Linked DNA regions of Homo sapiens: all the other regions are linked to region 1. The links are contacts of gene promoters, found by promoter capture Hi-C in human tissues and cell types (Jung and others, 2019). All regions are on one chromosome and are shown on one strand. The core of a region is centred on a gene start or on the middle of the fragment in contact, and the rest is flanking DNA. Distances in the headings are between cores, read along the strand shown. Region 1 holds the start of ALDH1L2 (aldehyde dehydrogenase 1 family member L2). Region 2 overlaps CHST11 (carbohydrate sulfotransferase 11). Region 3 overlaps CHST11 (carbohydrate sulfotransferase 11). Region 4 overlaps CHST11 (carbohydrate sulfotransferase 11). Region 5 overlaps CHST11 (carbohydrate sulfotransferase 11). Region 6 overlaps CHST11 (carbohydrate sulfotransferase 11). Region 7 overlaps CHST11 (carbohydrate sulfotransferase 11).

Region 1 (3,214 bases), core at 14-2,513:
CAGGCTCAGGCATTGGGCACAGCCCGTTGCTTTCTGTGCTATCCATCTGGGATCCCATGTGCCACGTGGTGGGGGAAGCTAATGAGGGGTCCAGGAGAGCAGGCCAAAGTCCTAGCAGAGCAGGTCTTCCCCACCCCCACCCCTCGTTTTATAAAAGGTGACTATACCTCAAAGTAACTAGAACTGGTTGCAAAGAGTAAAACGAATTCTTATTATTTGGGGTTGTCTGGGATACAGAAAGCTTTTCCTTTGATGCAAGTTTGGGCCAGTTTTTGGTGCTACTCAAGACTTCTCTCTGCCTCCAAGTTTTTTACATCTGAATATATACATATGTACATATGGCTTTGGCATGGCCGAGAAAAAGAATCGATAAGCAAATTCTTTTATGTACTTCCTATAAAAGATACGATACATAAGACAGTTTTTATTTTTTTTTTTTCTCTCTCTCTCTTCCCTAAACAGTCCCGAGGCCCCCTGGGTGCTGAAGGCAGCACCGCAGTGCAACGTGTCCTCTCTCGGTTCCATTTCTGGAGGAGCTGATGCAATTCCAAGGCGCGGGGCTGGGCCAGAGCTCGGTTCTTGTGCTACAGTAGAATAGTGTTCCAGCGTGGCTGCCTCTGCAGCGCCTGGCAATTCTAGAAATTTTGCCATCTGCAGCTCAGCTCAGGAATACTGAGCTTGCAGCCATCAGCTTTGAGTGCCATTATCTGAACCGGCCCTGCGTGCCAGTCTCGAGCGCTTACACCTCCCAGGCCGCCAACGAGGACCCTATTGACTTGATACTCCCCTCCTCCAGGAGACAGTCTCGGTTCCATATGGCTCCAGCTCTTGACCAGGGATCTCATGATTGAAGTGAAAAAGGAAAGGAAGCAGACTCTGTCCTCCTTACCAAGTGACTGTTCCCACCTTGCCATCCCAGCCAGACTTGACACGTCCAAAAACTGCATCCTCAGCCCCCTCCCGGCAGAAGACAATGGCCTGCGTGCCAGTTCCCATCCGGGACCCTCCCCAAGCCCTCCTCTGAGGTCTCTCTGTTTTTGTTTGTTTGTTTGTTTGTTTTAAACGCTGTCTTGGTGTTTAGCAAAGTCTAAGCATCGCTGCTCATCCCCAGCCCCACCGCCCCGGCCCTCCCGCCCCGGAGTCTGGAAACCAGGACAGGGTGACAGCCGGGACGCTCGCCCGGGCCGGACTCACCCGGCCAGTGGAGAAGCGCCGGAGCGCCTGGCTGCCCCGCCGCAGCATGCTGGAGAGGAGCGCTAGCACTGGCGACGCGGCAGCGCGGGAGGCAGGCGGGCGGCGCAGCCTGGGCGCGGCCTGGGCGCGGCCTGCAGTCTGGATGCCCCGGACTGCCTGGCTCGCGGCTCGCCGCTCTCGGCCTCTGCTAGTCCGCACCCCTCCCAAAGCCCACAGCCCGCGGCCCGCCCCACCCTACCAGCTGCAAGGCCCCGCCCCCTAGCTGTCAAGACCCCGCCCCCAGCTGGAAGGCCCCGCCCCGCCAGCTGGCTGCGTTCGGACAGCCAACCTGGTGCGACCCGGCGGAGCGCGTGGGCTTCCTGGAGCCTGTGGGCCCTGACCCTGGTGCCAAGAGCGCACCCAGTCCCAGGGACCGCGCCTCTCCGCTGCCTGGACTTTCCGCCAATTCCAGCCAAGGTCCAGGTGCTTTCTAACTGTGGGACCCTCTACCAGTTACTCAGCCCCGCAGCAGTGTATACGGATCTACCTTATTAGTGGTCAATCTGACATCCCAAGTGCTGTCCATAGCACAGCCCGTAAAAGGCACGCCTGTAGACAGATAGGTAGTGGGGGCGCCTTCGCTGTGGAGGGATCCTGATGCCTACCTCGTAGGACGGTAGGCCGGGCGCGGTGGCTCCCGCCTGTAATCCCAGCACTTTGGGAGGCCGAGGAGGGAAGATGGCCTGAGCTCAGGAGTTCGAGACCAGCCTGGCCACCATGGTGAAACCCCGTCTCTACTAAAAATAAAAAATAATAAAATAATAAAATAATTAGCCGGGCGTGATGTCGCATGCCTGCAGTCCCAGCTACTCGGGAGGCTGAAGCACGAGGATCACTTGAGCCGGGGAGGCGGAGGTTGCAGTGGAGCTGAGATCATGCCACTGCACTTCAGCCTGGACAACAGAGCGAGACTCTGTCTTAAAAATAAATAAATAAATTGGTGCAAAAGTAATTGTGGTTTTTGCCACTGAAAATAATGGCAAACCCGCAATTACTTTTGCATCAACCTAATAGATACGTGCCCTTCTCCCTCACCTCTCTGGAAAAAACGCTCAGACCTGCTTTAGCTGGACGTTTATCTCAAGCCAGACTTCTTAGCCCAGCATTCAGGGCCGTCTGCAATTTGCCATTTTCTCTTATTTCTCACTGCTCTTTTGCATATGTAATTCTGCTTGACTGCAGTTCTTGCCTATTCCTTCTTGGACAATGTTTCCCAGAAAAGCTTGTCATCTGTCACTTGTAATTATCTTGGCACGACCGTTTCTTTTCTGAAAGGTACCGCTTACATGCTGCCTCCTGGAGGCGCTTTTTTCTGATTCTTTTCTCTCTTAGTCTCCTTATTCCCCATAAATAATTGTTCACTCCTCTTAACAGGAAATAATCTTTGTCTATGCATCTGTTATGGCTGTCTCAATCTGCTACTGGTATTTGTATACCTATTAACGTCTCTGTTGGAAGCTCCTTGCAAGCTAAGTCCATGTCTGATTAATCAGGATTTACAGTATCTAGCACTAACCAGAGCTTTAAAAAAATAATAATAAAATAAAAAATAACTTGTTAAAAAAAAACTTGTTGAAACGGATGAATGTGTTTAAGAGAGTAAGGAGACAAAAAAGAACCATCATTAAAACTTGGAGAATTGCGGTTGGGCGCGGTGGCTCACGCCTGTAATCCCAGCACTTTGGGAGGCCGAGGTGGGCGGATCACGAGGTCAGGAGATCGAGACCATCCTAGCTAACACGGTGAAACCCTGTCTCTACTAAAAATACAAAAAATTAGCCGGGCGTGTGGCGGGCGCCTGTAGTCCCAGCTACTTGGGAGGCTGAGGCAGGAGAATGGCGTCAACCCAGGAGGCAGAGCTTTCAGTGAGCCGAGATCGCGCCCCTGCACTCCAGCCTGGGCGACAGAGGGAGACTCTGTTTCAAAAAAAAAAAAACTTGGAGAATTGCAACAAACATCCAAGGTTTTGCTTTGAGCCCTA
Region 2 (3,162 bases), core at 195-2,694, 460 kb before region 1:
TACAGTCACGGCTTCCCAAGCTATGGTAGGCAGAATGCCTTGCCCCTTTTCCAAGCAATAAGAATATGTTACCTTATTTGGCAAAAGGGACTTTGCAAAGGCAGTTTAAGTTAAGGGTTTTAAGATGGAGAGATTATCCTGGATTATCCGGATGGGTCCAGTATAATCATCAGGATGATAAGGGAGGCAGGAGTGTCAAAGCCAGGAAAAGAGATGTTGTGAGGATGGAAGCAGAGCTTGGAGTGATGTGAGGAAGGGGGCCACAAGCCTAGGAATGTAAGTGACCTGTAAAAGATGGAAAAGGCACAGAACAGATTTTCCCTTGGAGCCTCCAGAAGGAACGCAAGCCTGCTAACCCCTTGACTTTAGGACTTGTGACCTTCAGAATGGAAGCAGTTGTTTGTAGTGATTTGTTACAGCGGCAATAGAAAACTAACATGCACACACCCCTTTTTAGTTGGAGCTAAGCTTCCCTCTCCCAAGACCAGGGTCCAAAGGAGGCCTGGGAGAGGCCAGGTCTGTGACATCAGGTAAGCAGTCCGGCAGCAGCGTGGTGAGTCTGGAAAATGGGATGCTGATGGTTGTGGTGATACTGCCTTTTTCAGAATTGTTTTGAGGATCAAGTGAGGTACTGTGAAAATGCCTGGCAAATCTAGGTATAAGCCGGCAACCCCGGTGACCCCCACAGGCACATCATGGCTTACATACCGGCAGGGAATAGGCTGAGTTGATACAACCAAAATCCTTGTACATATTCATAAGAACTCTTTGACAACCACACATTCAACCTGAAATTTATATCAGATCACAGTTTTGTGGATAACCAAAATCCTTGTACATATTCATAAGAACTCTTTGACAACCACACATTCAACGTGAAATTTATATCAGATCACAGTTTTGTGGATGGGTTCCTATAGGTAGGAGGTACTACCACTGTTTAGTCAGTACATTTATTTTTTTTAAAAGGACGGAGTAAATATTTGGAATTAATGGTGTTATATTTGTCAAGATTTTCCTTCATGAAATGATTATATAATTCTTACAGTATTCTCAAAGTACCCGCATAGAGACTAGCTTCATTGAAACTCACAATTCTCTCAAGGTTGGCAGGGGAGATATTATCTTCCCATTTTAGACAGTGCAAAGAGAAGGAAGATCAGAGTATTAAATAACTCTCCCCAGCCAAGTAAGCTCTTAATAAATGTCAGGTAAGGCTAAACCTGAACGTCGAGCCTAGAGAGGGCAAAGAGCATGCCGGTTCAGAGCAGACACCCCTGCCAGGCACTAGCTGGGTGACTTTGGGCAAGTTACTTAACCTCACTGTGCCTCAGTTTCCTCATCTCCCAATGTAAGGATAATGTACCTACCTCACAGGTTTGTTGTGAAGACTAAATGAAGATAATGCAATAAACGGCTGAGACCCATGCCAAGCACATGGTAAAAGTGTGTAATTGCGTATTAGCAGCAGCAGCCAGAGCAATAGCCAAGGGTCAATTAACTCCCAGTCCAGTGTTCAGTTCATGATTGTCCATGCATTAAGAGCCAAAGCACCCCCAAAGCCATCTCACCCTGCTGAAGCAGTCTAAAGTGCTCAACTAAGTTGGTGCATTAATCTCTAGACCAGAGGTCAGCAGACGTTTTCTGTAAAGGGCCAGACAGCAAACATTTTAGGTCTCTGTTGCAACTACTCAGCTTTGCCCTTGTGAATGAAAGCAGCCAAGACAATATGTAAATGAATGGGCGTGGCCAGATTTCATCCACAGGGGTTCCCTGCTTTAGACTGTGCCGAGAGCCAGAGGTCTTGAGTTCAAGTCCCAGCCTCACCACACTGCAAGGGTGTTCTTGAGCAAGTCAGGAAGGCTCCCCAGAGTCAGGCCCTTAGCCTCTAAAAATGGGAATAATAATGCCTCCCTCAAGAGCTGGTGAGACAATGGAAGCTGTTTGTAAACTGTAAAGTACCGTGCCTGATTTGGTTATTAGTGTTTTATTGCTGATGTACGGTCGAGGTCCAGGCCACCCGTGGTAGATAAAAGTGCATGTGGGCTGGACGAAGTGGCTCACGCCTGTAATCCCAGCACTTTGGGAGGCCGAGGCAGGTGGATCACCTGAGGCTGGGAGTTCGAGACTAGCCTGACCAACATGGAGAAACCCCGTCTCTACTAAAAATACAAAATTAGCCAGGCATGGTGGCACATGCCTATAATCCCAGCTACTCGGGAGGCTGAGGCAGGAGAATCGCTTGAACCTGGGAGGCAGAGGTTGCGGTGAGCCGAGATCGCGCCACTGTCACCCAGCCGAGATCGCCTGGGTGACAGAGTGAGACTCCATCTCAAAAAAAAAAAAAGTTCATGTGCCCTTGGTGTAAAATACTGGGCTCTATCTCACCGTCTCTGCTGTCTGCAGTTGCATTATGAAATCAGGAAAGGGTTATTTAATTTCAATCACTTTCAACTTGTTTTGGGGTATGAGAAACACACCAGCCTCTGAAAGCTTCCCGTTGCTGTCATGTGATGTTTCTCTAGCCACGAAGCCTTGTGTAGTCTGAGTTGATCTTCATTCTGAAAATGGCAAATGAACAGAATGACCATGATGAATGGGGGCTCCTGAGAAACACAGCACTCGTTCTCAGTGTCTCAGGCTGGGGGAGTGAAGCCTGCAGCCTTGATGGAGGGAAGGTATGTGGAAAATGAATTGCTGAGCGGAATCTCAGAGAATGGCTGCTGAAGAAAAGCATTTCAAGGAGCAATTATGCAGCTCATTAAGATGCACTCCATTCCGGCCTCTGATCCTAGGGGAATTGTCAGAGCAATTATGTGCAAACCTCAATTTTGAGGTCTGAAAAGGGGTTGGTGCATAATCGGCAGGAGAAGAAAAAGAAGGGAGACGGTTTGAAACAATGGGTATTAAATGATTGTCACAGCAAGGAAGACAGGGATGGAAGGAGTGGACACCCTGGGTACTTAAGACTGAATGTGTGGTCTCAGGATTGCATACGGGCCATGTGGGCAGTGCATTTGGTACCCTTAATAGGACTTCTTGGAATCAAAGTGGTTTGCTTTGTACAAAGTTGTAAGCATGGTGTTTGGGATATGTTTGTTGAATGAATGAATGATTTGTGCTTGCCATATCAAATGAATGAAGGGAAAAATGAATGAAGAA
Region 3 (3,229 bases), core at 630-3,129, 350 kb before region 1:
TCTCCCAAAGACGTGGGTGCCTCAGAAAGATGAAAGCAGTGATCCCTATTTCCCTAAGGGCCTCCCCAGCCTTTGACAGGGTCCTGGCAGAAAAGCTAGACTCAGTGGCTGGTTTTCGTAAGTTTTGACCCCAGGGACATTTATAGATGGCCTGAAAACTAAATCAATGGATTTTACTTACTTTTTAAAAATTCACCTTTCATCACATTAGAAATAGACCTTCTTGCCCTATCTCTGAGTCTCCTCACGTCTCTTCTCCCTTCCCCAACCCACCCTCTAAGGGTCTAAGGGTGAAGTAACAGGCGGGAGTGCCTGTCATGCACAGCACTAGGTAATAAAACACCTTTTGGGGCTTAGCCACCAAATGTCCCTCCTGTCCAAGTGTCCATATCCAAACCTGAGCTCAGTCAGGTATCCGATTGGTGTTGCTGTCACCGGGGCATTTGCCACACCCAGGTGCTCACATCATCTATTGATACCCCCAGTCTCCAGATTCTTTTTGGCATCCTCCTCCCCAGCTTCCTAATCACTGATGAGACCAGATGGCAAAACAAATGGGGACTGATTTTGCAGTGACATCGGAATTGGAAGCTTTCTTTCTGGAACTAAGTATTAAGTATTTTTTTTAAGCACTTATTTCCTTACATGTAGTTCACAAAGAGGGCGTCAGCCCTGTGCTTTGAACTTGACATGCATCGTCTCACTTAATCTTTGCTCCACACCCTTGTGTAGTAGGTATGACCAGCCCTATGAGAGATGGGGAAACTGAGGCCCAGACCAGTGAGGTGATGTGTGCAAGGTCACGCACTGGGATTCCACCCATGCACCTTGTCTCCAGGGTGTGTCCTCTTCCCACAATGCTGTTCTGCCACCGGGTTCTTTAACTGGAAGATGATGTAGATAAGACATATCTTGAATGTAGCTGTGGAGGGCATGAGGCCAGACTGTTTTTGCTAGATGCAAAATCTGGAGTCTAGCTTTCCAGATCCCACAGGGAAAAGACCTCAGAGTAGATCCAAGATTTCCCCATGGCATGGAAGAAAGAGGAAAGGGGACATTTATAAGGCCTTTGTGGGAGGCAGTAACACTGACTGTGGGTATCAGGAAAGGGCCTTGCCTGATTCTGGGGGCACCTTTAAACCCAGCAAGTTCCCCCGTGTTCAACCCTCCCTCCCAGGGCTGCATGATGGAACCCTTGAACCAGGATCAGTTGTTGGGAGTCGCAGCCAACACTTTGACACACACTGTGTTTCAGGCAGTCTTCTGAATGCTTTGCATATTCTGTGAGGTTGGTACTTCCATTAGGTGGGTGCAAAAGTAATTGTAGTTCTTGTCATCAAAAGTAATGGTAAAACTGCAATTACTTTTGCGCCAACCTAATACTATCCCTACCTTATAGATAAGGAAGTTAAGGCACAGAGAGGTGAAGTAACTTGCCTAAGATCACACATCATTAAGTAGGTGGCAGAACCAGATTCAACCCAGGGAGATTGGTTGGCTGCACTGATCTTATCTATACTGCCTCTGAGGAGGGGAACCCTGCTTTTGACGTTGTAAGGTAGGAGGAGTTGGGTGATGGGTCTGGTTTCTTTGAAAAGCCAGCGGGGGGCGCTTTGAGCCTTCTGATGATGCCATGATGGCTGCCATGCCCCCATGGCCCAGCCCTGGCAAAAGTGTGTGCCTGTGGGGGCTGCCCAGGAATGTGGGCTTATGCCTCCTCCCCGCCACCACCAGCAATCTCTGTAGCTTTTGGCTGGGCACTGCTCCTCCAAAGAAGGCAGCAGGGCTTCCCCTGCCAGGAGGGCCAGCTTCCGCCAGCAGAGCTGCTTATTGAGAGGTACCTGGTCAGCACTGGCGCCAGAGGGGCACAGGGAGGTGTTTGCTCAGGCCCAGCCCATGCTTCTCTGCAGAAGTGGACGTGCTTTTCTGTTTATTTTTCTTATTTAAAAATTTTAAATCCAACTATCTTGAAATAGTTGGAGGTACAGAGCTGCTTGAGGAAAATTCAGCCCCAAAATTCATCAGAAAGATGGTTGGCCTCAGGATCACAGGGGCACGATCCCTCCTGAAGGACCAGCAGTTCCGGGCCCTGTGTAGGCACAAGATGAATGTCATTCATTTAAATCTCACCCCGGGCCCGTTGTATAGTTGCAGAAACTGGGGCTCAGAGAGGTCAGCTTGCCCAAGGCTGTGCTGCTAACAAGGGCAGGGCTGGACCTTAAGATCCGGACCCAAATGCCTGCTGTTTCTCCCGCCCCTAGTTCTGAATACGGTCACAGGTGGAAAACGGGGTGGCCTGTGATATTCCAGTCCCATGTTTCTTACTTTGCCATGGGGAGGAATGAGGACCTGGGGTTATTGCCCTGTAGTTCATTCCACCCTTCACCCCATGGGATACCCAGTCAGCCACCAACAGCCTTTCCTGGTAGGCACTCAGGGAAGTGCCCCAGGGTGAGGAGGATTTGTGAGAACTGGCGCTCTGCCTCCTGGGAGCTTTATGGCAAAGTAACAGCAAGAGAACACAGACAAAAGACAGATAATATGGAGATCCAGAGGAGGAGGGTTTGGGATGCTTAGACAAGGGTGGGGCCTGCGTTTATCTGATAAATAACACAGTGATTCTGTATCATCATCGTGTTGTTTACGTGAACCCTGCCAGGCACCACATGCCCTCATCAGGGCAAACTGCAAAATTGCCAGGTTTGCTTCTGTTCTGCAAACATTTTTTGAGCTCCTGCTCTGGGGGCAGGCATGGTGCTCAACACAGGGGATTCCAGGATGAGCAAGGCAACAGTCCTGAACTTCAGGGAGCAGAGGTAGGGATCTATGGGTAAACAGACAGTTACAGTATGTTGTGAGAAGAGAGTAAGCTCCAGAGTCCAGTTACCTGGGTTCAAATCCTGGCTGCACCACCGGCTAGCTTTGTGACTTAAATGACCACCTCTCTGGGTTTCAGTTGCCTCATCTATAAAATGGAAATATAATACGTCTCTACCTTGTAGGAGTGATAGAAGGACTAAATGTGATTACACAAGAGCTTAGGACGATGCTTGGCACCTGGCACTCAAAATATATTAGCTCTTCTGGTGGTGCTGGTGGCTGTGCTGTGAATGATAACAGCAATAATGGTAAAAATAATAATACCACGTTCTATAAGAGAGATGAGCCTAGATCACTGGCGGAGCACCAGGAAAAGGGGATACCTGACTGATCCAAGCCTGGTGGTGGG
Region 4 (3,146 bases), core at 100-2,599, 440 kb before region 1:
TTGGCCCTCTGATGTCAAAAGGTCACCTCTCATGCCTTTGTGCAGGCCCAGTTGGAGGTCGGTGGTCTCAACCAGCTTGTGTTTGCAAAACACATACCTAAAAAAAGACTCATATACCAAATATACAGAGAACTCTTAAATTCAACAATAAGAGAACAAACAGCCCAGTTAAAAATGGGTGAAAGATACAAACAGATGTCGCCAAAGGAGATCTACAGATGGCAAGTAAGCATAAGAAAGGATGCTCTACATCATATGTCGTTAGGGAATTACAAATTAAAACAAAAATGAAATAACACTTAATACCTATTAGAATGTCTAAAATCCAAAACACCAGCAACACCAAATGCTGGTGAAGACATGGAGTAACAGAAATCTCATTCACTGCGGGTGGAAATGCAAAATGATACAGCCCTTTTGGAAGACAGTTTGGCAGTTTCTTATGAAACTAAACATCCTCTTATCATGTGATCCAGCAGTTGCACTCCTTAGTATTTACTCAAATGAGCTAAAAACTTATGTATCCACAAAAATCTGCACACAAATGTTTATGGCAGCTTTATTCATAATTGCCAAAACTTGGAAGCTACCATGATACCCTTATACAGGTGAAGGGATAAACACACTATGATGCATCCATACAACAGAATATTATTCAGCAATCAGAAATATGCCATCCAGCCACAAAAAGATATGGAGGAACCTGAAGTGCATATTACTAAGTGAAAGAAGTCAATCTGAAAAGGCTACGTTCTGTATGATTCCAACTATATGACATTCTGTAAAAGTTGGCAAATGTCTGTAAACAGCAGTAAATGACTATGGGGGCAGTAAAAAGATCAGTGGTTGCCAGGGTTTCAGGAGGTGGGGAGAGGGATGAACAGGAAGAGCACAAGGGATTTTTAGGACAGAAAACTACTCTATGCAATGCTTTAATGGTGGATACATGACATTACACAAAGAATGAAGTCTAATGTAAACTATGGACTTCAATTAATAAGAATGCATTGACAGTGGCTCATCAGTCACAACATATGTACCACACCAATGCAAGATATTAATGATAGGGACAGGAGGCAGGGAAATTCTGGGCAGAAGAGGGTTGGTCCCCAGCGAGGTCCCTACCCTCAAGCTGAAAAGCCTAATACTGTAGCCCAAAGTGAGACCTTACATCCCTGTTTTCCCGCTCAAATGTTGCCTGCCCCGACCCCCATCCTGTGCCCATAAATACCCCAGGCTCAGCCAACAGAGAGGGGAGAAGCAGCTGGACATTGGAGACTACAGTTGGATGTCAGAAGCAGCTTGACTTCAGAGGGACAGCTTGATGGCATAGCTTTAGAGATGAGTCCAATCGGGGACCACTGGACTCCAGGGGAAAATTACCTTCCCACTCCTTCCCCTTTTTAGCTCCCCTTCCTGCTGAAAGCCACTTTCACTGGCAATAAAATCCCCCACATTGGCCATCTTCAAGTCATTTGTGTGACCTCATTCCTCCTGGATGCCAGACAAGAACTCAGGTGCCACAAATGTGAATGCAAAAGGGTGTCTGTCACATGGACCATCCACTGAGCTGTTAACACTTAATCTGTCCATGGATGGCAAAGCTAAAAGGGCACTGTAACACTTCTTCCGGGGCTTCAGGGGTCATGGACACCCTCCCCTAGATGCTGCCACAGGGTCAGTACAGAGTTCGCTCTTGCTGGCACCCAAAAGCGTTCACCCCCACCTCCTGCACCCATTCACCTGTGTTCCCCCTCCTCTGAGGGGTGGAACAGTGAGTGAGTGGAATTTGCCCCTGCCAGCACCCATGTACTCCAGTTCCTGCCTGCAAAGGGGTCAGGGAAGTATCCTGCTTCATTAATAATGGGAAACTGGGGGTTAAGGTATGAGTGTATGTATATGGAAGCTCTATATACTTTCCACTCAATTTTTCTGTCAACCTAAAACTGCTCAAAAAAGAGAATCTATTAATTTAATTAAAAACAAAACTGGGTGGACCCTACCCACCTTCCTACCAGCAAACATGAGAAGGAGGATGGCTGTTCCCCAGTGCTGACGGGGGCACTCAACCTTCTGGGGGCAATTTAGCAATGGATAAGAAAATAAAAAGTCTGTAATCACCTTGATCTGGCACTTCTAGGAGTTTATCCTAAAGCCATGGTTCTCAACCAGGGGGGATTTTGCACCCCATCCACCCCAGGGAGGACATTTGGCAACATCCGAAGATAGTTTTGATTGTCAGAGCTGGGGAGCTGCTACTGTCCTCTAGTGGGTTGAGGCCAGGGATGCTGCTGAACGTCCTATGGTGCACAGGACAATCCTTACAACAGAGTCATCTGATCCTGTACGTCATTAGTGACACTTCTGAGAAGCCCAAATGAGGAACTGGGTAGGTACATAGTACTCATCTCAGTATTGTTCACAGTAGTGAGAAATTAGAAATGATCAAAATATCATGTGGCAGTAATTAAAGGATGGTATATCCATACTATGGGATCCTGTGCAGCCTTTAGAATGGCAGTATGGGAGTATGATCTCTAATATGAAAAAAAATGCTCATGAGACATACATGAAAAAAATTACAAAGCGACATGCATAGAAGAATTGTATCATTGTAAAGACAGAGTACCTATGCGCATTTCTTTTTTTACTTTTTACAAATTAATTTGATTTTTTTAAATTTTGAGACAAGGTCTTGCTGTGTCGCCCAGGCTGGAGTGCAGTGGCGCAATCGTGGCTTACTGCAGCTTCATCCTCCCAGGCTCAAGCAGTCCTCCCACTTCAGCCTCCTCAGTAGCTGGGACTACAGGCGTGTGCCACCATGCCTGGCTAATTTTTGTATTTTTGTAGAGATGGGATTTCACCATGTTGCCCAGGCTGGCCTAGAACTCCTGGGCCCAAGCGATCCTCCTGCCTCAGCGTTCACAAGTGTTAGTATTACAGCTATGAGCCACTACACCCAGCCTGTTATGTATCTCTGAGAAGACACATAACAAAATCTCAAGCCTGTGTCTAGGTGGTTGGAATATAGGTGGTTTTTAACTTTTAAAATTATTTTGGGGATTTAGATTTTTTTTTTTACAATGAACATTTATTACTTTTATAATTAAAACAAGAATACTTTTTAAAATTAAGAAATTATGCAA
Region 5 (3,543 bases), core at 620-3,119, 410 kb before region 1:
TGCATATCAAATACTTGTGCTTAGCACATAGAAATTGCTCAACTCAACAAATGTTAGTTTAGAGGAGGCCCTTAATAAATCTAAGTTCCCTTTTCCCCTCTCGCTTTCCTAAAGCTTCACCTAAGCCAACAGCTGGACAGAGGCGGAAGCTTGCCAAGAGAGTCAGAAGAATCTGGACTCCACACCGCCTGCTGCAGGGCCTGCTGGCCTCACAGGGAGAGGGAGGAAGGGGGGTCCACCCTGGCCAGGTGCACTCTGGTGAGAGCAGCCCACAGAGGCCTTGTGGTCTCCCAACTTCCTCAGTCCTTAGGATGCTAACAGGGCTGTAGCAGAGCGAGTCCTCAAAACCAAGGGGCTTCCCCACCACTCTGAATCCACCAGCAATCTCTGCCTCTGCACGGCACCCAGGGCAGGGTGGTCCTTCCCCGCTTTTCTATTCCAGACCGTCCATGAACTGCCTCCATTTCCTCCACCCACCCCCAACATAGCCTCCTTCATGGAGCATATACACATGTGCAAGTGCATATGTTCAGACCCACACACACACACACTCACACTCATACACACTCACACAAACACATCCATACACACATGCACTCACACTTACACACACACTCCCACACATACACACCCACACATGCACTCACACTCATACACACACTCCCACACAAACACATCCATACACACGCACTCACACTCATGCACACTCTCCCACACATACCCACACACACACAAATATACTCTCACACATACCCCTGCATACACACACATCATACATACACACCACATATACACACACACTCCCACACATACCCCTCACATACACAAACCAATACACACCCACACATACACTCTCACACACACCCCACATAAACACACACCCACACATACATTCTCACACACACTCCCACACATACCCCCCACACCTATACATATACACCAACAGAAACACACACATACATACATGCACATACATGCACACTCACACACACACTCTTTTCCAGCTTTGTGTTTCTGCTTCTGCCTTTTCAGTTTCTTTGATTTCCCACATATGGATTTCCTGCCCTGCCTTCTGAGGGTGTTGGGCAGGTGAGAAGCCCTAAGATCATGTTCAGAGCTGAAAACATAATCACCAGATTGGAATACTGGAGATGAGATGGTAGAGAATGGCTAGTTTTAGCTTTTCTCATTAACACGGGGTGGGAGCAGATGACCTTTTCCTTTTAGCTGACAGCTAGTCTGCTGGCCATGGGCACACCCTCCTCCGCAAAGCCTCTTGTGATCTCCAGTCTGACTGGACACGGCTTCTTGCTGCGCCCGTGATCCTAAGCATGGGGTGTGGGTGGTAGGGAAAAGCCTGGAGCAGGGCTGCTTGGTTGAAATCTTGGCTCTGCAAGTTATTTGGTTTTGCTGTGCCTTCATTTCCCCATTTGCAGAGTGGGGTCAGTATTTGCCCTGATTCTTAGGGTTGTTAAGAATATTCGATGAGGAGAGCCACATCAAGTGCTTGGAATGCCTGTCTACTGATCATTACTGTTACCAGCGCGATCATGGTTTTGATCATGGAAGCTCTTAGCCCACTGCACTGTGATCGGTCTAGGAAGTCCTGTCGCTTCCCCCACAGGTTTCGCAGCAAACGGGCCAGGACAGTTATCTCAGGCAGCCTAGAGAACGCCTACAGTGTGAGCAAAGCCACTGTTTAAAGTGAGGTGATACTTTATTCACCAAAGATTCCTTTACTTACAGAAAGTCCCCCTTGAACTTATGATTTGAATTTTAGACATTTTACCCAATCTCTATCTTTCTCTCTCTTTTTCTCTCTCTCTCTGTCTCTCTCTCCTCCCCGCCCCCAGCCCTCTTCTTGCATAATGTGAGAAGAGGCTTTCAACAGCCAAATGGAAACCCCCTTTGTCACCTTGTAGGCGTGTGGCATTGGGACACTGAAGTTAGCAAATCGGCCAGTGACTCATCAGTTTCCTCTCCATAACTGGGGTGTGGTTGGGGGATGGGGCAAAACTGGCACTTGGCAGGAGGCCTTGGCACAGTTCCCAGGCAGCATTCCTTCTGACCCGTCAGTGACCATGTCCTACCCATTAAGGAATATTGTAATGATCAGCCCTGGAGGAAGGAGCATTAAGATTTCTGCTCTGACTTCAGATGTTTTGATACAATTTGGGTAGCTCGAGTTCTCCATCCCTGACAATGAAAATGCCCAGGAATGTCAGGGAAGCGCGTTTTCTGGAAACCTACCTCCCTGAGACCTGTCTGGCCTGCACAGGGGGGTGGACCGTGTGGGAGAGAGGGGATTGTCCCTCTCTCCCCAAGGTCAGCTCTGGCTTGCGGAGTAATGGCTCGTGTGAGTGATGTGTGTGCAGGACTCCATTAGGGGCCCGGCTGTCCAGCTGTCTTGTGGCAAGTGTCTTTGCAGAGAGGGGCGAAAGGAGCAGATAGCTCCAGAAATGGAGAATAAAGAGACCATTGCTTTCTGCTTTCTGGCAAATTCTGCCAAAATACTGCAGAGAATGAAAAACTTTGAAGGAAAACCCCTTTATCAGCTATCCCATGCCTTGTGGCCATTGATTCCACGAGCAGGTGTTTCTGAGAGCTGGAAGCTGGCCTGGCCCTGGCCTCTTTCAGGAATAGAACATGTGAGGATGGTTGGCTTCACCACCTCCAAAGGGACCTCGGGAGGAGTAACCTCCCAATGGGGCAAGATTACTCACCATGACGGGCAGCTCAGTGCATGGCAACAAGCGTATGCTCTGCTGGGCAGCCTTCTTGGCTGGAAAACTGGCTCGTGATTCTGACTGTGACTCTCCCTCCTACACTTTCCAAGCCAAGAGCCTCCCCCAGATTTCACATGCCTCCCGCATGGCACCTCTGTTCTCCTGCTGCCACCACTCAGACACCCAGGCGTGAGGATTACTCTGAAACCCTGATGCTTGGCCATACCTGCCCCACCATTTCTGAGGCTGCCATAATGAATCACCACAGACCAGGTGGCTTAAAACAACAGAAATGTATTCTTTCCCAGTTCTGGAGGCCAGAAGTCCAAAATCAAGGTGTCAGCAAAGCTGTACTCCCTCTGGAGACTCTAAGGGAAGATTTATTATTTGCCTCTCCCAGTTGCCAAACTCCTTGGCTTGGGGCCCCATCTCTCTGCTCCATGTACACGTTGCTGCCCCCTCTTCTGTCTTCTTTTTTGTCTCTTATAAAGACACGTCATTAATATTTAGGGCCTACCCACACACTCCAGGATAATCTCAAGATCCTTAGCTTAATCACATCTGCAAAGACCGTTTATCCAGAGAAGGTCACATTCCCAGATTCTGGGAATTTGGATGTGGACCTATCTTTTGGGGAGGTACCATTCAGCCTACTGTACCTGTTAATGGAATGGTTTGTTACATGGATTAACACTGACTTGAGGCTTTCTAGGGTGAGCCTAGAGCATTTTCTCAAAAATACACATGTGGTGACACCTATTTTTAGCTATTTGACTTGGACAAGTAACTTACCCTCTTTGGGCCTCAGTTTCTTCAC
Region 6 (3,661 bases), core at 733-3,232, 330 kb before region 1:
CCAGGTAATAACGTTCATGTAGGCTCAAGTTTGAGAACCACTGGCATGAAGTATGATTAGTACTCAGGGGTAGCCAGCCCAGGAGAGAATGACGCATGGTTGGAGTAGGGACTGGTCGGCTAAATATAAACTTTCTTTTAGTAGGCTCTGCAGCCTCTGGAAGAGTCCCAACGGGTTCCTTAAATGGGATGTGGTATGTGTGAAAGTGTTCCATACATGAGGAAGCTTTCTGTTGACCTTAGGTGGAAGTGAATCGTGGCATTATTCAGTCAGCTGAAGAAAGCAACCCTCCAAATACCCCAACACAGGCAAACTGAATCCAAGAATCTCCCTCCTGCACTGAATTTTCCGAGTCCTTTGAAATCTTGTGCATGTTCCTCTCCAAACAACTGGAATGTTTCTCTTTTCTGATAACTAGAGCAAGAAGATTTAATCATATTTCCCCTTTTGTCCTTGCTGCTAGGAAGCCCACAGCCAATTGAGATTCTAAATCCCAGCCCTCATAGAATATTTTTTTTCTATTTTTATTTCATACTGCACATATGTCCTTTGTTATGGTCTCTTCAAAACCTTTTGAGAAAGCAAACAAGAAGAGGGGAGAGAAAGGGAATGTAAGAAGAAAGACATTGATCTCACAGCTCAGATAATTGTCAGATCAACAAGTCCTTTCTTTGTAAAATTGATCAAACTTGGTTGGAAAATTTGGGCATTCTCTTTTACTATGAGGGAACGGGTTTTTCTTCATTAATGAGTGAGTCTTCTTCACTCTCTTGTCTTCCTGATGTCCCCAGAGCTGTTGGTCCCATCAGTAGTTCCGGAACTGTGCTCAGGGAACGTGTTAGTTGCTGAGGGGTTATGACAGTTACAAAAGCTCTTCTGAGCCCTGGTGGAGCCAGGCTGTCATCAGAAATCTCTCCTGCCCCATTTTGACATGGTGGCAAAGAATTCCTCTCTTCCGTCTGGCCTGTCCAGGGCTGTCCTTACTCCAGGTTTCATAAACCAAGGTTCAAGAAGTCCACAGATAGAACCCCCAGGAGTCTAGAGTTCCATAGAAGAACTTTATTGATTGAGTGTTTTTATTTTGGTGATAATCTTTTGAAAAATGATTATCCATTTCTGGATCATCAGGTCTGCCCCGGATAACCTAGTTCTGCCATATGAAGTCGTGGTGCCTGTGTTCATTGATGTTCTTGGTGGTTCCGTGTAGCTCCATTTTTATTGTCTTGGGCTAATTGGAAATGAGCAGAAAAGGAAAATATATACATGATGAGCTTTTACCAAGTAAAGGTCAAATGAGATTCCAGCGTGCCGAGTTTCACAGTAACTAGGAATGAGGAAGTGGTAAGGAAACCGAGTCCTCATGCAGCACAGAAAGGGAAGCTCTACTCCAAACACCCTGACCCACAGCAGTGAGCAAGCATCTGCGTGGTTTCAGGCAGGGCTTTAGTTCCAGTAAAACATCACCCCTCATGTTAATGTTGTGCATTTGAATGTTTATGTTTGTTTTGAACTTGTAGTTGTGTACCTGGTTTTATATTTCTGCACTTTTTTTTTTTTTTTTTTTTTTTTTTTTGTTGAGACTGAGTCTCGCTCTGTCACCCAGGCCGGAGTGCAATGGTGCAATCTTGGCTCACTGCAACCTCTGCCTCCCGGGTTCAAGTGATTTTCCCCTGCCTCAGCCTCCCCAGTAGCTGGGAGTACAGGTGTCTGCCACCATGCCCGGCTAATTTTTGCATTTTTAGTAGAGACAGGGTTTCACCATGTTGGCCAGGCTGGTCTCGAACTCCTGACCTCAGGTGATCCACTCGCCTCAGCCTCCCTAAATGTTGGGATTACAGATGTGAGCCACCGTGCCTGGCTTGTGCACATTTTAGTACCATTTTATTTTTAATAATTTAAATCAACACTAGTCTGAAAATATTTTTATTTTTTGAGACAAGGTGCTTACTGTCACCTGAAATTATTTTAAAATTAAAAAATTATAAAAACCAATTAAAATGTATTTTTAAAAACATTAATAGTAGAGGCCCAGGTGAATTTCTCTCTTGGATTTGAGAAGCATTCTCTTGACCCCTACCCCAGAGTCTTCCTGAGGGGAAACTGTGTGTGCCTTGTTGTGGCAGGTGCACCATTTGCCCCTTAAACTGCTGTGGAGAAGAAGGAAATGGAGGGGAAAGAAACCTCAAATACCAGGTTTAAAAGCCCCACTGAGTTATTTTCCGCCTCTGCAACTGAATGTAAAATGATATGCTGGTGTCATTTCCATTTTTCCTGCCTTTGTGGTCCTGAATGCAGTATTAACTGGCATGCTACCTCCCTGGGGATTCAGGTGGCCAGAAAATTGTCTCCAGCTCAAAAGAGGTTGGGAGGGTGATGAGGGGGAGATCCCCTTATTTCTCTGCTCATCTTAGTAACTTATTGCCTTCAGAATTGTCCTTAGTGATTCAAATGGCAGAATTGATGGGCCCTGTTTCCTTCCTAGTCCTTTCATTTCCTTTAAACACAGGTTTGGTTTTGTTTAATGGCATTGTTCAATAGCCCAAGAGGCCCATGAATGCTTCTCTTAGGGTGATGAATACATCGGCTAAGAAGTCATGAATTGCAAAGGTCAGAGTTTTCCTATTCAAAATAATTATTAATTGAATCCAGTGACCTAGGGCTGACCTGCAACAAAATTACAGAGCTGGTGAAATTTGTCTTTGAGATTCCTATCCAGGCGTTCTTTTTCAGATTTCTTTTTTCTTCTTTGATAAAAGAATGCCTACGTATTAACTACCTGTTTTGTGCCATACCTTGTCCAAATCCTGTACTAGAGTTGATCTTATTTACTGAATGCTGAAATGTACCTTATTTGCTGTAGTCACCACCCCTGCGGGGTAGGTGGTACTATCCCCATTTTGCAAATAGAGGAACTGAGACTCAGAAGGGTAAGGCTCTTGCCCAGGATCAAGCCCAGACCTTCTTATTTCAAATCTTATCTTCACTGTACTTTACAAGTACCCTAATACACTGTCCTTATTCTTCTATATAAAATAGCCTCTTATATGATGTTATCTTCTCTTTAAACTTATAGTTTAGTACCAACTTGCTCAAAGTTATCACTTGAATGATTGACCTCCTCTTTTAGGTTCCTGAGGCCATCATAACAAATTACCACAAACTGAGTGGCTTAAAACTAAGGAAATGTATTCTCTCACAGTCCTGGAAGCCAGAAGTCTGAAATCAAGCTGTTGGCAGGGCATGCTCTCTCTGAAGGCTCCAGAGGAATGGATCCTTCCTTGCCTCTTCCCAGCTGCTGGTGGTGGCCGGCAGTCCTTGGCATTTTTTGGCCTGGAGACACATCATTGCAGTCTCCGACTCTGTCCTCACGTGGCATTCTCCCTGCGTGTCTCTGTGTCTCTGCTTTCTCTTCTTATAAGGACACCACCCATTGGGTCAGGGCCCACCCTAATCCAGTATCATCTCATCTTAACTAATTACACCTGCAAAAACCCTATTTCCATATCAAATCACATTCTGAGGTTCTGGGTGGACATGAATTTGGGAGGGACATTATTTGTCACAGTACAGCTCTATGAAAGAACTTTATGATAATCAACAAACAATTGGGAAATTTATTTACTTATTTATTTATTTATTTATTTATTTATTTATGTATTTT
Region 7 (3,301 bases), core at 740-3,239, 390 kb before region 1:
GCTAACACTTTCATAGCATTTGCAATTTGCCGAGTGATGTTTTCAGTGTTTTGCATATATTAACCCACTGAAGCCTTACAAACCTCTGAGGGAAACTGTTGTTATTTTACAGAGGAGAGAATTGAGACACAGAGGTTAAATAACTTACTGTATTAGCCTGCTCTGACAGGCATAATGAAACATCACAGACTGGGTGACTTAAACCAGGGGTCCCTAATGCCCCTGGCCACAGACCCGTACCAGTCCCTGGCCTTTTAGGAACCAGGCCCCACAGCAAGAGGTGAGTGGCAGGCGAGCAAGCATTACTGCCTGAGCTCCACCTCCTGTCATATCAGTGGCCTCATAAGATTCTCACAGGAGCACAAACCCTATTGTGAATTGCATATGCAAGGATCTAGGTTGCATGCTCCTTATGAGAATCTAATGCCTGATGATCTGAGGTGGAACAGTTTCATCCTGAAACCATCCAACCCCGCCCCTCCCACCCCCATCCATTAAAAAAAAAAAACAAAAAAAAAACTGTCTTCCATGAAACCAGTCCCTGGTACCAGAAAGGCTGGGACTGCTGACTTAAACCACAGAAATTTATTGTCTTACTGTCCTGGAGGCTGGAAGTCCAAGATCAAGGTGGCTGCAGGTTGGTTTCTCCTGAGGCTTCTCTCCTTGGCTTGCAGATGACTGTCTTGCTGCATCCTCACTTGGTTTTTCCTCCATACACACACATATCTTATGTCTCAATTTCCTCTTCTTATAAGGACATCAATCAGATTGGATCAGGCCCCGCCCCCCAAAGAACTCATTGTATCTTAATTACCTCTTTCCAAATCTTATCTCCAAGTACAGTTACATTCTGAAGTGCTGGGGGCTAAGACTTCAACATATAAATTTGAAGGGGTCACAGATCAGCGCAACACGCCCAGTGTGACACCACTGAAAAATGGAGGGCTGAGATTGGAACCCAGAGGCCATGCTCTTAAGCTACTATGCCATACCTAGGGTAGCAGTACTATATAATTTATCCTCCAAATTGGGACACTTTGAGAGGGAAGGATCGTCATTAATATTTGTGCTGGGTCAACAGGCATAAGATGAGGCTGTCTCAGGCACACCAGGATGTGTGGTCACTTAAATTACACAACTTCTTAACTCTGACAGAATGGTGCCTGCCCTTGTGGAGTCTACAGTCCACTGGATGGGAGACAAGAAAGTGGCAATGCTAATGCAGCATGCCAAGTGTCAGGACATGGGGGTTTTAAGGGACCATGAGAAGTTGGGAGCACAGAGAAGGGCCCCTGATTTGGTCTCTGGGGGTCAGGGAGGGCTTCCTGGAGGAGGCGACAACTAAGATGAGATTGATGGATAAGTAGGAGTTAGCCAAAGTGAAGTACATAGTGGTGAGAGCTGAGATGGAATGGATACCAAGGCCTCAATCTAGAGATTAGGCCTCTGGGCTCGGGCACACCCCTACTCTCTGGGACCGCTTATATAAAATGAGATACAGTTTACATCAAGGATCTGTCACTTTTTCTTAAAAAGTCAGATAGTAAATATTTTAGATTCTGTGGGCCAAGAGGCAATATCAAGGATATTACATAGGAACTTGTATAGTTACTTAAAACAAAACCATGTAAAAATATGAAAATTATTCTTAGCTCCAGGACCATATTAAAACAGGCAGCTAACTGGATTTGGCCCGCACATTTATCTCAAAGTTTGTGGTCTTACCCAGCTTTATGGCATATCTATTCATCAGAAAGCTTTGCCAGGTATTGTATAGACCATGGGGCAGGGGGTAGCTTGTATCATGGACGTACCTACATTAAAAGCCCCCAAGAGCCAGCAAAAACCCATATTCAAACCTACCTCCACTCTCCAGCCGCAGTCCAGCCCCAGCCAAGCCACTTAACCTCTCTGAATCTGTTTCCTGATCCTGTGGAATGTGGGTAATAGCACTGCTTCTCAGGGCTGCTGTTAGCTGCCTTCTCATTCCTCTTACTCAGCATTCATCAAACACTTATCCTGCACTGGGCGCTGCACCAGGCCCCGGAGTTCAAAGGTGGCCAAGATGCCACTTTTGAAAAAAATGTTTTTTGAATGTGTTTTTTGGTTTTGTTTTGTTTTTGTGGTCATTTTCTTAAAAAACCTGGGTGTGGTCAAGAGCACAGCCCCCTGTTTTGACGCTGCATTAGTGGAGGGAATGAGTTTAACGAAGCGGGTGACTTCACCTGGGTCACCTGCCAGGATTCTATCTGGGGTCACAGTTACTTCAATAAAGTGAAGCAGGAACGAGGCAGAGGGGACATGGGCCTTTGTGAGAATGAACGATGGAAACTCTTTGAACTCCTGGGATAGAAAGGCCAAGCTGTCACTAGAGCTGTTCGTGATGGGAGAGTGATTAAAGCTCGTTGGAGTTTCCTGCCTTCTTCTGGCATCAGAACTTTATGCCTGCTCTGTGTTCGGAACCAGTGCAGCTCCGAGTCCTGAGCTTTGACGTGGGAATCAGATTTCCCTGGGCCTGAGTCAGATTCTGGGCCCCACAGAAGTCAGTGGCTCCCATTTGGCTGAGGGGGTTCCCACCGGACCCTTTGCTGGGTAGAAAACACAGCAGCCAAGAAAGATCTGTTGGTCCTTGAGTCAGCTGTTGAGAAATGGAGCCACAGGGGATGCTGGGGGGTTCTCCGAAGCTTGACACCCTGCCTTCAGATCCTGGCATCATCATTTGGCAGGAACACGTGTGGCCTTTCACAAGCAACAGGATTTCTTTGAGCCTCAGCTGTCCCATCTGTAAGATGGACATGGTGTTGCCTTCCCAACTGGCTTGCCCTGAGACTAAATTTGGAAATTGCCAACATTCCTCGAATGCTCCTTATGTGCCAGCTATTGTGGGGAGGGCCTCAGCTCAGCCCCCTCCAAGGCCTGATAGTTTGAAGGCACTGAGGTAGAGGTTTTGTGTCTGTTCCTAGAATTAGGCAGTTTGGTTCCAGAATCAACATCCTTAACCATTAGATGACACTGTCTGTGAAGAGAAAGAAAACTCATGAAAACACAATTCACAACACAATGAGTGTGTGTGTGTGTGTGTGTGTGTGTGTATGTGTCCTTGTGGTTTGCTTATTGAACAAGCATTTCCTGAGCACCTACTTTGTGCAAAGCCATGGAAACATAAAGATGACTAAGGCACAGTTCCCAGCTGCAAGCGGGGAGCTTCCAGACATTTCTATCTTACCTCAGAGCTAGTGATAAGAATAGGTTCCCTCACTCTCACTTCCACCCAGCATGTGCCTTAGCTTACAATTGATAG

What was found. The method cuts DNA at HindIII sites, captures the fragments that hold promoters and counts their contacts. A contact is called where the count stands out against the background at its distance.
Region 2: a fragment that was not itself captured here is called in contact with the fragment with the promoter of ALDH1L2 in region 1 in 1 of the 25 tissues and cell types used here (lymphoblastoid cells).
Region 3: a contact is called between a fragment that was not itself captured here and the fragment with the promoter of ALDH1L2 in region 1, in 1 of the 25 tissues and cell types used here (lymphoblastoid cells).
Region 4: a contact is called between a fragment that was not itself captured here and the fragment with the promoter of ALDH1L2 in region 1, in 1 of the 25 tissues and cell types used here (mesenchymal stem cells).
Region 5: a contact is called between a fragment that was not itself captured here and the fragment with the promoter of ALDH1L2 in region 1, in 1 of the 25 tissues and cell types used here (lymphoblastoid cells).
Region 6: a fragment that was not itself captured here is called in contact with the fragment with the promoter of ALDH1L2 in region 1 in 1 of the 25 tissues and cell types used here (lymphoblastoid cells).
Region 7: a fragment that was not itself captured here is called in contact with the fragment with the promoter of ALDH1L2 in region 1 in 1 of the 25 tissues and cell types used here (lymphoblastoid cells).

Annotation. Positions count from the first base shown.
Region 1 is chr12:105,083,195-105,086,408 of GRCh38, forward strand. It overlaps ALDH1L2 (aldehyde dehydrogenase 1 family member L2), which reads right to left and starts at 1,264. Exons shown (of 23, transcript NM_001034173.4): 1 at 1,195-1,264. The coding sequence starts at 1,242. RefSeq lists enhancers at 107-907, 402-641 and a silencer at 1,142-1,571. The HindIII fragment of the contact is 4,053 bases long and covers 1-3,214 here.
Region 2 is chr12:104,621,385-104,624,546 of GRCh38, forward strand. All of the region lies in intron 2 of CHST11 (carbohydrate sulfotransferase 11), which reads left to right. Among named protein-coding and RNA genes, the nearest start is that of MIR3922, 31 kb to the left of the region's middle. RefSeq lists an enhancer at 2,369-3,106. The HindIII fragment of the contact is 4,525 bases long and covers 1-3,162 here.
Region 3 is chr12:104,732,285-104,735,513 of GRCh38, forward strand. The region is part of intron 2 of CHST11 (carbohydrate sulfotransferase 11); the gene reads left to right. Among named protein-coding and RNA genes, the nearest start is that of MIR3922, 140 kb to the left of the region's middle. The HindIII fragment of the contact is 7,646 bases long and covers 1-3,229 here.
Region 4 is chr12:104,639,735-104,642,880 of GRCh38, forward strand. The region is part of intron 2 of CHST11 (carbohydrate sulfotransferase 11); the gene reads left to right. Among named protein-coding and RNA genes, the nearest start is that of MIR3922, 50 kb to the left of the region's middle. The HindIII fragment of the contact is 7,114 bases long and covers 1-3,146 here.
Region 5 is chr12:104,669,936-104,673,478 of GRCh38, forward strand. The region is part of intron 2 of CHST11 (carbohydrate sulfotransferase 11); the gene reads left to right. Among named protein-coding and RNA genes, the nearest start is that of MIR3922, 80 kb to the left of the region's middle. RefSeq lists an enhancer at 1,476-2,080. The HindIII fragment of the contact is 7,265 bases long and covers 1-3,543 here.
Region 6 is chr12:104,748,884-104,752,544 of GRCh38, forward strand. The region is part of intron 2 of CHST11 (carbohydrate sulfotransferase 11); the gene reads left to right. Among named protein-coding and RNA genes, the nearest start is that of MIR3922, 160 kb to the left of the region's middle. RefSeq lists enhancers at 2,179-2,756, 2,746-2,795. The HindIII fragment of the contact is 6,008 bases long and covers 1-3,661 here.
Region 7 is chr12:104,692,383-104,695,683 of GRCh38, forward strand. All of the region lies in intron 2 of CHST11 (carbohydrate sulfotransferase 11), which reads left to right. Among named protein-coding and RNA genes, the nearest start is that of MIR3922, 100 kb to the left of the region's middle. The HindIII fragment of the contact is 5,274 bases long and covers 1-3,301 here.